Linked DNA regions of Homo sapiens: region 2 is linked to region 1. The links are contacts of gene promoters, found by promoter capture Hi-C in blood cells and fetal thymus (Javierre and others, 2016). All regions are on one chromosome and are shown on one strand. Each heading gives the region's core, a stretch centred on a gene start or on the middle of the fragment in contact. The rest is flanking DNA. Distances are from core to core; before and after follow the strand shown. Region 1 holds the start of RPUSD3 (RNA pseudouridine synthase D3). Region 2 overlaps EMC3 (ER membrane protein complex subunit 3).

The links. The method cuts DNA at HindIII sites, captures the fragments that hold promoters and counts their contacts. A CHiCAGO score of 5 or more calls a contact.
Region 2: a fragment that was not itself captured here is called in contact with the fragment with the promoter of RPUSD3 in region 1 in 4 of 17 cell types (activated CD4 T cells, monocytes, neutrophils and 1 more); the score reaches 6.4 in activated CD4 T cells.

Annotation. Positions count from the first base shown.
Region 1 is chr3:9,841,297-9,847,250 of GRCh38, forward strand. RPUSD3 (RNA pseudouridine synthase D3) reads right to left here and starts at 2,712. Exons shown (of 9, transcript NM_173659.5): 1 at 2,594-2,712; 2 at 2,169-2,305; 3 at 903-947; 4 at 687-786. The coding sequence starts at 2,694. RefSeq lists an enhancer at 2,575-2,654. The HindIII fragment of the contact is 7,859 bases long and covers 822-5,954 here.
Region 2 is chr3:9,973,058-9,979,011 of GRCh38, forward strand. EMC3 (ER membrane protein complex subunit 3) reads right to left here. Exons shown (of 8, transcript NM_001394674.1): 2 at 4,332-4,389; 3 at 3,900-3,993; 4 at 1,327-1,431; 5 at 571-652. Among named protein-coding and RNA genes, the nearest start is that of EMC3, 11 kb to the right of the region's middle. RefSeq lists an enhancer at 3,372-4,571. The HindIII fragment of the contact is 7,414 bases long and covers 1-5,954 here.

The DNA.
Region 1 (5,954 bases), core at 1,462-3,961:
GCTCAGGGAGGGTATTTGTTTTGTTTTGTTTTTTTGAGACGGGGTCTCATTCAGGTTGTTTAGGCTTGCGTACAGTGGCGGGATCTCAGCTTATTGCAGCTGCCATCTTCTGAGCTCAGGTGATTCTCCCATCTCAGCCACCCGAGCACTACAGGCATGTGCTGCTCTGCCCAGCTAGGTTTTTGTGTGTGTGTGTGTGTGTGTTTTATTTTGTTTTTTAAGTAAAGATAGGGTTTTGCCATGTTGCCCAGGCTGGTCTTGAACTTCTGGACTCAAGCAATCCTCCCACCTCGGCCTCCCAAAGTCCTATTGATTATAGGCATGAGCCACCACGCGGAAAGTTTTGTTGTTGTTTTTCCAGAGATGGGGTCTATTTTGCCCAGGCTGGTCTCGAACTCCTGGGCTCAAGTGATCCTCTTGCCTTGGCCTCCAGAAGTGTTGGGATTACAGGTGTGAGTCACTGTGCCCAGCGTCAGGGAGGTGTCATGCTTTGCCTGGTATCACACCATTTGTACTTGAGGATTTGAACCCAGAGCCATCGGCTTCCTCTTCTTCACAGTACTTGTATCCACCTCTATGATCTCAAACCTTCCCATGGAAAATGTCTCAGCTTATCCCCAAGCAGCTGTTTCCCCACCACAGATGGATGCCTGTACTCCTAGCTTCCTGTCACCCCTACCACTTACTTCCCAGATGCTCGGACAACCTGAAGCTCCTGCTCCCTGAGCCCTAGGGACTGGCTCAGCTCTGGCAGCACTGAGAACAACGTCAGCTCTCCTGGTTTTCCTGGAAAGTAAGAAAGAAAAATTACAAGAGGCCAAAGCTTCATGCCTTCACTTTTCCCTCCCTCAGTCACGAAACCCCCTTCCGCTGCATTCCCTTCCCACATCCCCGGCCCATACCTGTCACTGGTAGACCCTGTGGCTTGTTCAACGTCACTAGAGGTCCTGAAACATACATCACACGAACATCAGCAAAAGCAACGGTAACCCTTTATGCAGCACTAAAGAGTTTCCAGAGCACTTTCTCACGCATCTTAGCACATGTCCCCATCATGACTCTCAGACATGAGTTAACTACCCCACACCAAATTCAACTTCTTTCTGTTCCTCTGCCACCTCAGAGCCTCGGCACTTGCTGTTTCCTGTCCCCAAATTTCCCAGGTCTGGCTCCCTATCATCTTGGCTCAAATGTCACATCACGGAGAGGTCTGAATCTCCAATCTAATGTCTGCCTTCCTCCTGCAGTTCCTCACCATCATAACACCCTGTTTTAGTTTATGCATAGCACTTACCACTAGTAACTTGTTCATTTATTTTCTGACATCCATTTCTCCCGTTAGAGAGAAATCCATTTCTCCCCTGAGAGCAGAAACCATATCTATCTTTTTCAGCACTGTATAGCCTGCCTAGAACAGTGCCTGGAACATAGCATATGTTCAAGAAATAGTTGAGAAAAGGAATAAATCACTGAATAGAGAGTGGGGTTCAGAGAAATTCAGTTATTTTCCTAAAGCCGCACAGCAAGCTGATCACAGAGCCTAGGTATGTCTGACTCCAAAGCCTGTGTTTTGTCCGTCGATAAATAATCATTATTTATTTATTTATTTATTTAGACTGAGTCTTGCTCTGTCATCCCAGGCTGGAGCGCAGTAGCACGATGTCGGCTCACTGCAACCTCTGCTATCCGGGTTCAAGTGACTCTCCTGCCTCAGCCTCCCGAGTAGCTGGGATTACAGGCGGACGCCGCCACACCTGGCTAATTTTTGTGTTTTTAGTAGAGACGGGGTTTCACCATGTTGGCCAGGCTAGTCTCGAACTCCTGACCTCAGGTGATCCGCCCGCGTCAGCACCCTAAAGTGCCGGGATTACAGGCGTGAGCCACCGCGGCCAATAAACAATAATCTAGTATAGCAACTCCCGTAACTGAGCGCCGGCTATGTGCAAGGCTCGGTAGTTATTTGCATCTTCTCCCCACTCTTAACCCTACTGCATCATGGCAGTAGGGTTAAAAGCGGGGAGAGGGTGCAAATTAGGTGGCTTGTCCCAGCTCATGCTGCTAGTGGGAGGCAGAAGCAGGGCTGATCCCGTGGCTTCAATGGAGAGCCCAACTGCACGCCGAGGCAGTCCCCTCCCGGTCCTTGTGCGGCCGTGCCTCTCACCCCTCACCTTTCCGGTCCACCACGGCTGCCCGCAGCGCATCAACCAGCTCCTCCCGACTGAGGTTTTTTGGCAGCAGCCCCGCGAAGGGCTGGTCCCCGAGGGGCCCCGACCGTTGGCAGGAGCCGCGGGGTTGCCTCTGATGCCTGGACAAGGAGGGAGAAGCAATGGGAGTCATTCCATCCCGAGGTGCCACCCATTCCTATCTCCGGACGCCTCTTCCCAAATCCTGCGGCCTCTGACAAATGCCTCACAATGTCTGGGCTGACCTCGAAAATTCAGGTACGACCGGTCCCATTCTACAGCGGAGGGCACCGAGGCTCAGAGAGGCCAACGGGGCTGTTTTCGGGTAACATCTACCTGATCCAGATCCCGCACGTGCCTTCCCCCTGCCCTAGCCTCCGTCCCGCATGAGAGAGGGGGTACTTAATCACCGGGCTTCGGTGCCAAAGCCTGCGTCCTCGGGCACTGGGCGGACACCCAGGCCCCGCCGCCAGCCACTCCAGAACCGGCCCAAAACACGGCGGCCGTCCATCTCCCGAGCCAGGACAGCGCGCATGTGCGTCCAGAGGGGCAGACCCGCGCTCCAGCCAGCGCGCTGATTGGTCAGCTGGAGTGTCAATCGGAATGGTGACCGGGCGGGACTCAGAGCCTGAGGAGGCGGGGCTTTTCCTCCGCCCAGGAAGGAAATGCAGAAATGCCTTCCTATGCTTTTAGGGAGAGCGCTGTAGCAGAAGAATTTGATCTGATCAAAAAACCTGTCTTAGCAAAAAACCTGAAGCCGCCTTTGCAAAAATTATATTACAAAATTATGACAGCGAAAGAGATCTGATCTAACCAACCCGCAGCTTGCCTTTAACCTCTAAACGGTCCTTGGTCATTCCTGGGCTTGGGCCAAGCTAACTTTGGGAGAAATTAGTTCGTAGTCTAAATGATAATTGCCCTTCCCCCGAACTAAACTGGCTTCATAGAGTTAATGAAAGGCCACCAGGTTAGGAGTAGTAGAGGGACCTGAATTCTGCTAAGGGTTAGAGGTAACTGATTACCAGCGGTTATTCCGGAGGTCACAGTGTTTGCAGCTTCCCCAGCTCACGATTGTCCAACCTGAGATTGGCCTTTGGAGATGTCTTTCCAGGCTTTTGCATTTCTGACGGCCGGATCACCCCACCCGGACCCTCAACTCTTGGCTCTACTAGTCCTGTGGCCCCTCGAAGTCAGGAGATCGAGACCATCCTGGCTAACACGGTGAAACCACGTCTCCACCAAAAATACAAAAAAATTAGCCGGGCGTGGTGGCGGGCGCCTGTAGTCCCAGCTACTCGGGAGGCTGAGGCAGGAGAATGGCGTGAACCCGGGAGGCGGAGTTTGCAGTGAGCCGAGATCGTGCCACTGCACTCCAGCCTGGGCGACGAGCGAGACTCCGTCTCAAAAAAAAAAAAAAAAGAAAAAAGAAAAAGAAAGTAGAAGAACACAGAAAAAAAAGAATAATATAATGACTGCCCACATTCCTACCATCAGAATTAGTCATTGTGAAACAATATATATATGTATAGGTTTCCTGTTTTTCTTGTTTAAGAAATGAAAGGGATAAAAGTAAATTCCCCTTTACTGCGTGCTTCCAGTTTTCACTCCCTCCCCAGTCTCCACTTTGAGTTTGGTGTGAACATTTTCCTAATGTGTTTTGGTTTTTGTTTTTTGGAGACAGAGTCTCGCTCTGTCACCCAGGCTAGAGTGCAGTGGCCCGATCTCGACTCACTGCAACTTCCACCTCCCGGGTTCAAGCGATTCCCCTGCCTTTGCCTCCTGAGTAGCTGGAATTACAGGTGCGGTGCCCGCCACCACACCCGGCTAATTTTTTGTATTTTAGTGACGGGGTTTCACCATGTCGCCCAGGCTGGTCTCGAACTCCTGAGCTCAGGCAATCCGCCCGCCTTGGCCTCCCAAAGTGCTAGGATTACAGACGTGAGCCACTGTGCCCGGCCACTAATGTGTTTTTTTGCTTGCTCTGTCATCCAGGCTGGAGTGCAGTGGCACAATCACAGCTCACTGCAGCCTCAACCTCCCAGGCTCAAACGATCCTCCCACTTCAGTCTCCTGAATAGCTGGGACTACAGGTGTGCACCACCATACCTAGCTTTTTTTTTTTTTTTTTTTTTTTTTAAAGATATGGGGTCTCACGATGTTGCCCAGGCTGGTCTCAAACTCCTGGGCTCAAGATAAGAAAATAAAAATAACAAAATAATTTTTAAAAAATCAAACTCCTGGGTTTAAGGGATTCACCCACCTACTTCGGCCTCCCAGAGTGCTGGGATTAAAGGCCGCACGGGGCCTTTGACAGACACTTCTTTTTTTTTTTCCTTCGAGATGGAGTCTCACTCTGTCACCCGGGCTGGAGTTCAGTGGCACGATCTTGGCTCACTGCAACCTCTGCCTCCTGGGTTCAAGCAATTCTCCTGCCCCAGCCTCCCAAGTAGCTGATACTACAGGCATGCACCATCATACCTGCCTAATTTTTTGTATTTTTTAGTAGAGATGGGGTTTCACCATGTTGACCAGGCTGGTCTCAAACTCCCGACCTCAGGTGATCCACCTGCCTCAGCCTCCCAAAGTGTTGGGATTACAGGTGTGAGCCACCGTGCCCGGCCTTTGACGGACACTTTCTAATAGGCTTTTTCATCCAGCATTACACACCCCTATGAGGAAGGCAGGGTGGGTTGGGGCCCTGCCTTACAGATGAGGACACAGTGGCTGTTGTGGTTCTTTGTGTCCCTTAAAGGCATGCCAAAAGCTATGGGTGGGCTCAGAATGCCCCGGAAGGAAGTCAGATAACTGAAAAGAACACTTGCACTGGTCACAGGAAAACCAGCCTGAGCTGCCGGCAGCCTCTGGGAGGTGTTGGGATGGCCTGCCCCTGGTTTCCATGCGGGTCCTGACCCAGAGAGCAGGCCCCAGGGGAGTGGGGGTCAGCAGAGGCAGGATGGGGCCCGGTCTGCTTGTGAGGGAGTGCTGGGAGGGTGGAGTCTCACTCTTGAGGCACAGAGCTCAGCCAGCGGAAGAGGGGATGCAGGGATCAAGCCCCAGGCCCTGGGGCCTGAGGTGTGAGAGCTGTCTTTGATGGTTGAAGCCAGCCTTCCCAGGCCAGGCCAGGCCAGGCTGCTCTCTCTCCCCGAGGATGCATTTCTTGCTCTGTTATCAGCCCTGAGCTCTGAGAGAAGGGACTTTCTTTTTTTTTTTTTGAGACAGAGTCTTGCTCTGTTGCCCAGGCTGGAGTACAATGGCGTGATCTCGGCTCGCTACAACCTCTGCCTTCTGGGTTGAAGCGATTCTCTAGCTGCAGCCTCCCAAGTAACAGAGATTACAGGCGCCTGCCACCACACCCTGCTAAGTTTTGTATTTTCAGTAGAGAAAGGGGTTCACCATGTTGACCAAGCTGGTCTTGAACTCCTGGCCTCAAGTTATCCACCCGACTCGGCCTCCTAAAGTGCTGGGATTACTGTCATGAGCCACTGAACCTGGCCAGGAGGGACTTTCTTAAGAAGGTCACAAGAGGACTCAGCACCTGCCAACTCCCAAGTAGAGCCTGGGCAGGGGTGGGAGGTGTCCCCGGGGACCCCAGTGCACGAGAGCCCTGTGCCTGCACGGCCCTCCACCAGGAGGCCAGGCCTCAGAGGCAGGCCAGCATTGGAGCCACTTACCACATGAACAAATGTCTGTGTCCCCCCAAACTCATGTGTTGACACCTCATCCCCAAGGTGATGGCATCTGGAGGTGGCATCTTTGGGAGGTGATGGGGTC
Region 2 (5,954 bases), core at 1,040-3,539, 130 kb after region 1:
CTGGTGATCCGCCCGCCTCGGCCTCCCAAAGTGCAGGATTACAGGTGTGAGCCACCGCACCCAGCCAGAAATCCTCATCTTTAAGGGACACTGGTTTTAGATTTTGGTTTGTGAGGTTTTTGTTTTCGTTTTTTGTTTGTTTGTTTGTTTGTTTTCAGACAGAGTCTCGCTCTGTCGCCCAGGCTGGAGTGCAGTGGCGCAATCTCAGCTCACTGCAAGCTCCGCCTCCTGGGTTCATGCAATTCTCCTGCCTCAGCCTCCCGAGAAGCTGGGACTACAGGCGCCCGCCACCACGCCTGGCTAAGTTTTTGTATTTTTAGTACAGACGGGGTTTCACAGTGTTAGCCAGAATGGTCTCGATCTCCTGATCTCATCATCTGCCCACCTCGGCCTCCCAAAGTGCTGGGATTACAGTCGTGAGCCACTGCGCCCGGCCTGTTTTCGTTTTCTTGAGACAGGGTCTTACTCTGTTGCCCAGGCTGGTCTCAAACTCATGGGCTCAAGTGATCCTCCCGCCTTGGCTTCCCAAAGTGTGGTTTGTGTTTTTATTAAACAAAAGAAAGTTCTTACCAGGATGCATCTAATGTGAGTAGCTCGATTCCTTGCTGTAACATAGGCTTAAAACGGAGGGTCAGTGGAAATGGGACCTTGGCTGCAGAGAAGAAAAAGTTCACAATCACTCTGAGCTGTTTTATTTTTAGAATAAGTGTGACTCTTTCTCAGAGGAGGTGGGAACTCTGTGCCACATAGCTTTTGGAAAACGACTTCCACAAGGAAATCTGTGGCAATTTCTGAAGAAAAGACAGTCAAAATGCCACTCTGCTCTAGTTTCCCTGAATAATATCTGCCTCTAGCTTACTGAGGAAGCAGGGACTCAAACTGAGCTGTGACCTGAAATTTGGAAAAAACTTGCAGCAAACTGTCAAACTCTAAGTGGAATATATAAGCATAGAATTATGTTAATAAGAAACCAAATTGATTAAAAGCGAATCAACTTACAAACAAACAGAAAACTCACCCTAACATCTAGCAAATGAAGTCAAAATAGAAATACGCTTCCCTTTATCCTGCTCAACGAGAATACCGTATTAGTTTTGGAAGTAAGCTAGCAAGTCACTTGCTTGAATCTAATCTGGCTAAAAAGCATCCACGTCATGAACTTAGGATCATTTTTGGGCAAAAGCCGTAAAAGTCATCACATATTAAATTTTTTGTTCAAGGACTATTATCAGTTTACAAAAGAAAACACAGGACCTGTGATATTAGTGTCTCACTAGCACTTGAATTTCTCTGGGTAACATGAAGTCGGCTGGGTCTGTAACTTACTTGTGACAAAGCCTGAGAATGTCATGTTGATCCATCCACCAATAAGAATCATAGGGAGGACATTTGTTACATTCCCTTTCATCATGTCTGTCAACATAGTAGGATCTAAGACAAAAGCACAAACAAGAAACCACTAAGTTTTACCTCTGTTGCCAGGGACTTTCTCCTGATTTTCTGTAAACTGTTTTTTTTTGAGACGGAGTCCCGCTCTGTCGCCCAGGCTGGAGTGCAGTGGTGCGATCTCAGCTCACTGCAAGCTCCGCCTCCCAGGTTCACACCATTCTCCTGCCTCAGCCTCCCGAGTAGATGGGACTACAGGTGCCTGCCACCACGCCTGGCTAATTTTTTGTATTTTTAGTAGAGACGGGGTTTCACCGTGTCAGCCAGGATGGTCTTGATCTCCTGAACTCGTGATCCGCCTGCTTCGGCCTCCCAAAGTGCTGGGATTACAGGCGGGAGCCACCGCACCCAGCGTTTTTTTTTTTTTTTTTTTTTGAGATGGAGTCTCACTCTATCGCCCAGGCTGGAGTGCAGTGGCATGATCTCAGCTCACTGCAACCTCCGCCTCCCAGGTTCAAGTGATTCTCTTGCCTCAGCCTCCTAAGTAGCTGGGATTACAGGCACACACTACAATGCCCAGCTAATTTTTGTATTTTCAGTAGAGACGGGGTTTCACCATGTCGGCCAGGCTGGTCTTGAACTCGTGACTGACCTCAAGTGATCTGCCTGCCTCGGTCTCCCAAAGTGCTGGGATTACAGGCGTCAGCCACCGTACCCAGTCTCAATATTTTTAATGTCTGCATAGGATTCCATGGTGTGGTCACACCAATCACTTTTGAGTAGACCTATCGATTGTTTCCATTGTTTTTGCCAATAAACGATAAATGATGCTGCCGACAATTATCTTGCACATACATCTGCATGTTTATGTGTTTCCGTAAGAGAATTTCTTAGAATTTCTAGGTCCAAGGATTTGTACATTTAAAATTGATAGATATTGTCAGACTGTCAGCAAGGCCCCACCTCTTGCCACTCCCGCCAATGGTGAGGGAGCCTAACTTCCTCGACCTTGACAATAGTGGATCCTGACAATCTTTTCAATCTTTTGACAGCTTACTGGGCTAAAAAAAAAAAAAAGAGATATCTTGGCCAGGCACGGTGGCTCACACCTGTAATCCCAGCACTTTGGGAGGCCAAGGCGGGCGGATCACGAGGTCAGGAGATGGAGACCATCCTGGCTAACACAATGAAACCCCGTCTCTATTAAAAATACAAAAAATTAGCCGGGCATGGTGGCAGGTGCCTGTAATCTCAGCTACTCTGGAGGCTGAGGCAGGAGAATCGCGTGAACCCGGGAGGCGGAGCCTGCAGTGAGCCGAGATCGCACCACTGCACTCCAGCCTGGGTGAGAGAGCGAGACTCCTTTCTGAAGAAAAAAAAAAAAAAAAAAAAAGATATCTTGTTTTAATTGATATTCCATGGATTATTAGTGAGGTCAAGTAACTTTTCATATATTTAATGGTCTTTTGTTTCTTGTAAATTTTCTTAAAAATTTGTTAAAAAATTAACTCCATACAACCTTAGTCACTCTCAAAAAAAATTAATTATAATACCTTCCGTATGGGTTTAAAATAGCTGGTTATCTCACCTAAAGAAGTGAATAGTACTAAAATGAGAGGAGTCAACACAGAACAACAAATTACTTTGTTTTACTTTTAGTTATTTTTATTTTTATTTTTCGGAGATGGAGTCTTGCTCTGTCGCCCAGGCTGGAGTGCAGTGACGTGACCTCAGCTCACTGCAACCTCCACCTCCCAGGTTCAAGCAATTTCCTGCCTCAGCCTCCGGGGTAGCTGGGACTACAGGCACCCACCACCACGCTAGGCTAATTTTTGTATTTTTAGTAGAGACGGGGTTTCATCATGTAAACCAGGCTGGTTTGAACTCCTGACCTCAGGCAATCAATCCACCTGACTCAGCCTCCCAAAATGCAAGGATTATAGGCGTGAGCCACCACACCTGGCCTGTTTTACTTTTAACATGCTATATTTTTCACATGACTGGTATCAGTGGAAGTAGAAAATGTTAGAGCCAAAACTGTAGGGTAGACCAAACAATCACGTCTAACAACAAAGTCAACAAAATGGCACATCTTGGAAGTACTGCACTCTTCCTCATTTAGGCAGAAGCTGGGCAGCCATCTATTGGAAGGGGATCCAGGCACTGGGTGACAGCCAGGCTGGAATGCTTTACCAACTGTGCTCCCTAGAATCCTGGGTCCTGAGAACAGCAATAAGGAGAGACCCAGGGACAATAGCTCTGGCCTCCCCACTCCATCAGCTGAGAACTATTTTTTTTAATCCACTTTATACATTGGGGTTCTCAGAAAATCTAACTGAAAAAGAGAATTCCACTTCCATAGATCCCTGTATCAGATGATTTCTAAGGTCTAAGATTACTATCTTTTGCAATTTAACATTTAAATAAAATGACACCCTCCCTGCCTACCCCACCCCACTCAAATACCCATGTTAAAAATCTTCCTTAAAGATGAGTGAAGGGAACAAACATACCAGTCATAGGAGAAGGTGGCACTACCTTCCGTTTAGTTTTTTTGAAAAATCCATCCTCTGGGTTGTTGAAATAATATTTTCGTGTCAAGAAAGACTAGTAAAAAAAAAAAAAAGTGTTTTAAGTCTAAGAACTATGACACAGCAAACTGTTAAATTACTCCCCAGTGGCTTAGTCAGAAGGCCTTTAGGATATGCTGTTCCGCTCAGAGCTGTCAGCCTACTTGGCAGGCGACCTGACACTTTAGCTGAGTCACATTTAAAAACAATTTCCTAAGAAGGGTGAGGTCACCATGAGAGCAAACACCACCAGGCCACAGCTTAATTACTAAGTTGCCAACCTTTAGCTTTCCCCAGAGCCCCCTTATAAAACATTCAGATATCTACTGCCCAACAGTGAATCGTGGAGCTTTTTAATAAAAGATAAATGAGTACCTGTTTGGGAATGTATTTTCCATTTTCCCTGAGGACTCTGCTTCGAATTAGGACTTGACTGAAAAATACAACCAACACAATGAGATTTTAAAAAGTGAAACACTAGAAGAAAATGGGAGAGTCAAGTAGAAGACCTATTTAAACACAAGAGAGGGCCTATTTGGCAACAGCTCTGTGTGGAAACTTCCCAAAATACAAGTATCTTTAAAACCAACGTAAACTTATTTAACCTAACTACTAGGTTTTCAGAAAAGTATTTTTCAAAAGTGACTGTGTTTCTGAACACATAAATATTTCAGAGTTAGGTACATTTGGGACATTACACTCAGCTTTTTCTTATTTGATAATAAGCTAGGAAGACACTTTCTCTGAGTGAAAAGAATAGTTGAACACTGCTCAGGAGATCTGGGGTCAGGAGAAAGGGAGAAGAGTGAGGATAAAAGAAGGAATTTCTTATTACCTACAGAGAAATGAGAACAGGCCTTGAGAGGGTTGCTATCTGATGGACAAATAGAAAATCTACCCAGAAGTCAGACTGTTAGAAAGCTCTCAGTAAACATTTATTGAATAAATAAATGAAATTACTAGGTGATCTTAAATCAACTATTAGAGCCATAGTTGATCAATAAATATCATGCTAGGCCAGGTGCAGTGGCTCACGCCTCTAATCCCAGCAATTTGGAAGGCAAAGGCAGGTGGATCACTTAAGCCCAGGAGTCTGAGACTAGCCTGGGCAACATAGCAAGACCCTGTCTCTAAAAAAAAAAAAAAAAAAAAAAAAAAAAAAAAAAAAAAAAATTAGCCAGGCTGGTGGCACGTGCCTGTAGTCCCAGCTACTCAGGAGGCTGCAGTAGAAGGATCACCTGAGCCCAAGAGGCAGAGGTTGCAATGAGCTGAGATGGCGCCACTGCTCTCCAGCCTGGGCAACAGTTAAGACCCTGTCTCTAACAACAAAAAAAGAATACAGTGTTATGCAACAAATGGGTGTTGCTAAGATGCAAATGACAAAACAGAGATCAAAATATTAATTTTTTTCTAGGTACTCAAAAGTTCATTAAAGGAGGAAAAGAGGAAAAGGCCCTTAAAGTAATGGAAATAGTCTTGAAACGTGAAAAAAAATTATGAACAGAAATGAACATAGTAAAACCTGTGCTTGGTAGGGGCCAGGCGCAGTGGCTCACATCTGTAATCCCAGCACTTTGGGAGGCCGAGGTGGGCGGATCACGAGGTCAGGAGTTTGAGACCAGCCTTGCCAACATGATGAAACCCTGTCTCTACTAAAAATATAAAAATTAGCCGGGTGTGGTGGCCTGTGCCTGTAATCCCAGCTACTCAGGAGGCTGAGGTAGGAGAATCACTTGAACCAGGAAGGTAGGGGGTTGCAGTGAGCCGAGACGACGCCATTGCACTCCAGCCTGGGGTGGGACTCCATCTCAAAAAAACAACAACAACAAAAAACAAACAAACAAACAAAAAAACTGTGCTTGGCTTCCTGTCTCTACTCAATACAAACCACTTGTTTTAAACAGTCAGTACCCCGGGGTTTCCCCTGTCACACTACACATATTCTAGTTTCTCCACATGCTGGGAATGTTCCAGTGCCCTTTCCTTTCCGAGTTCTAC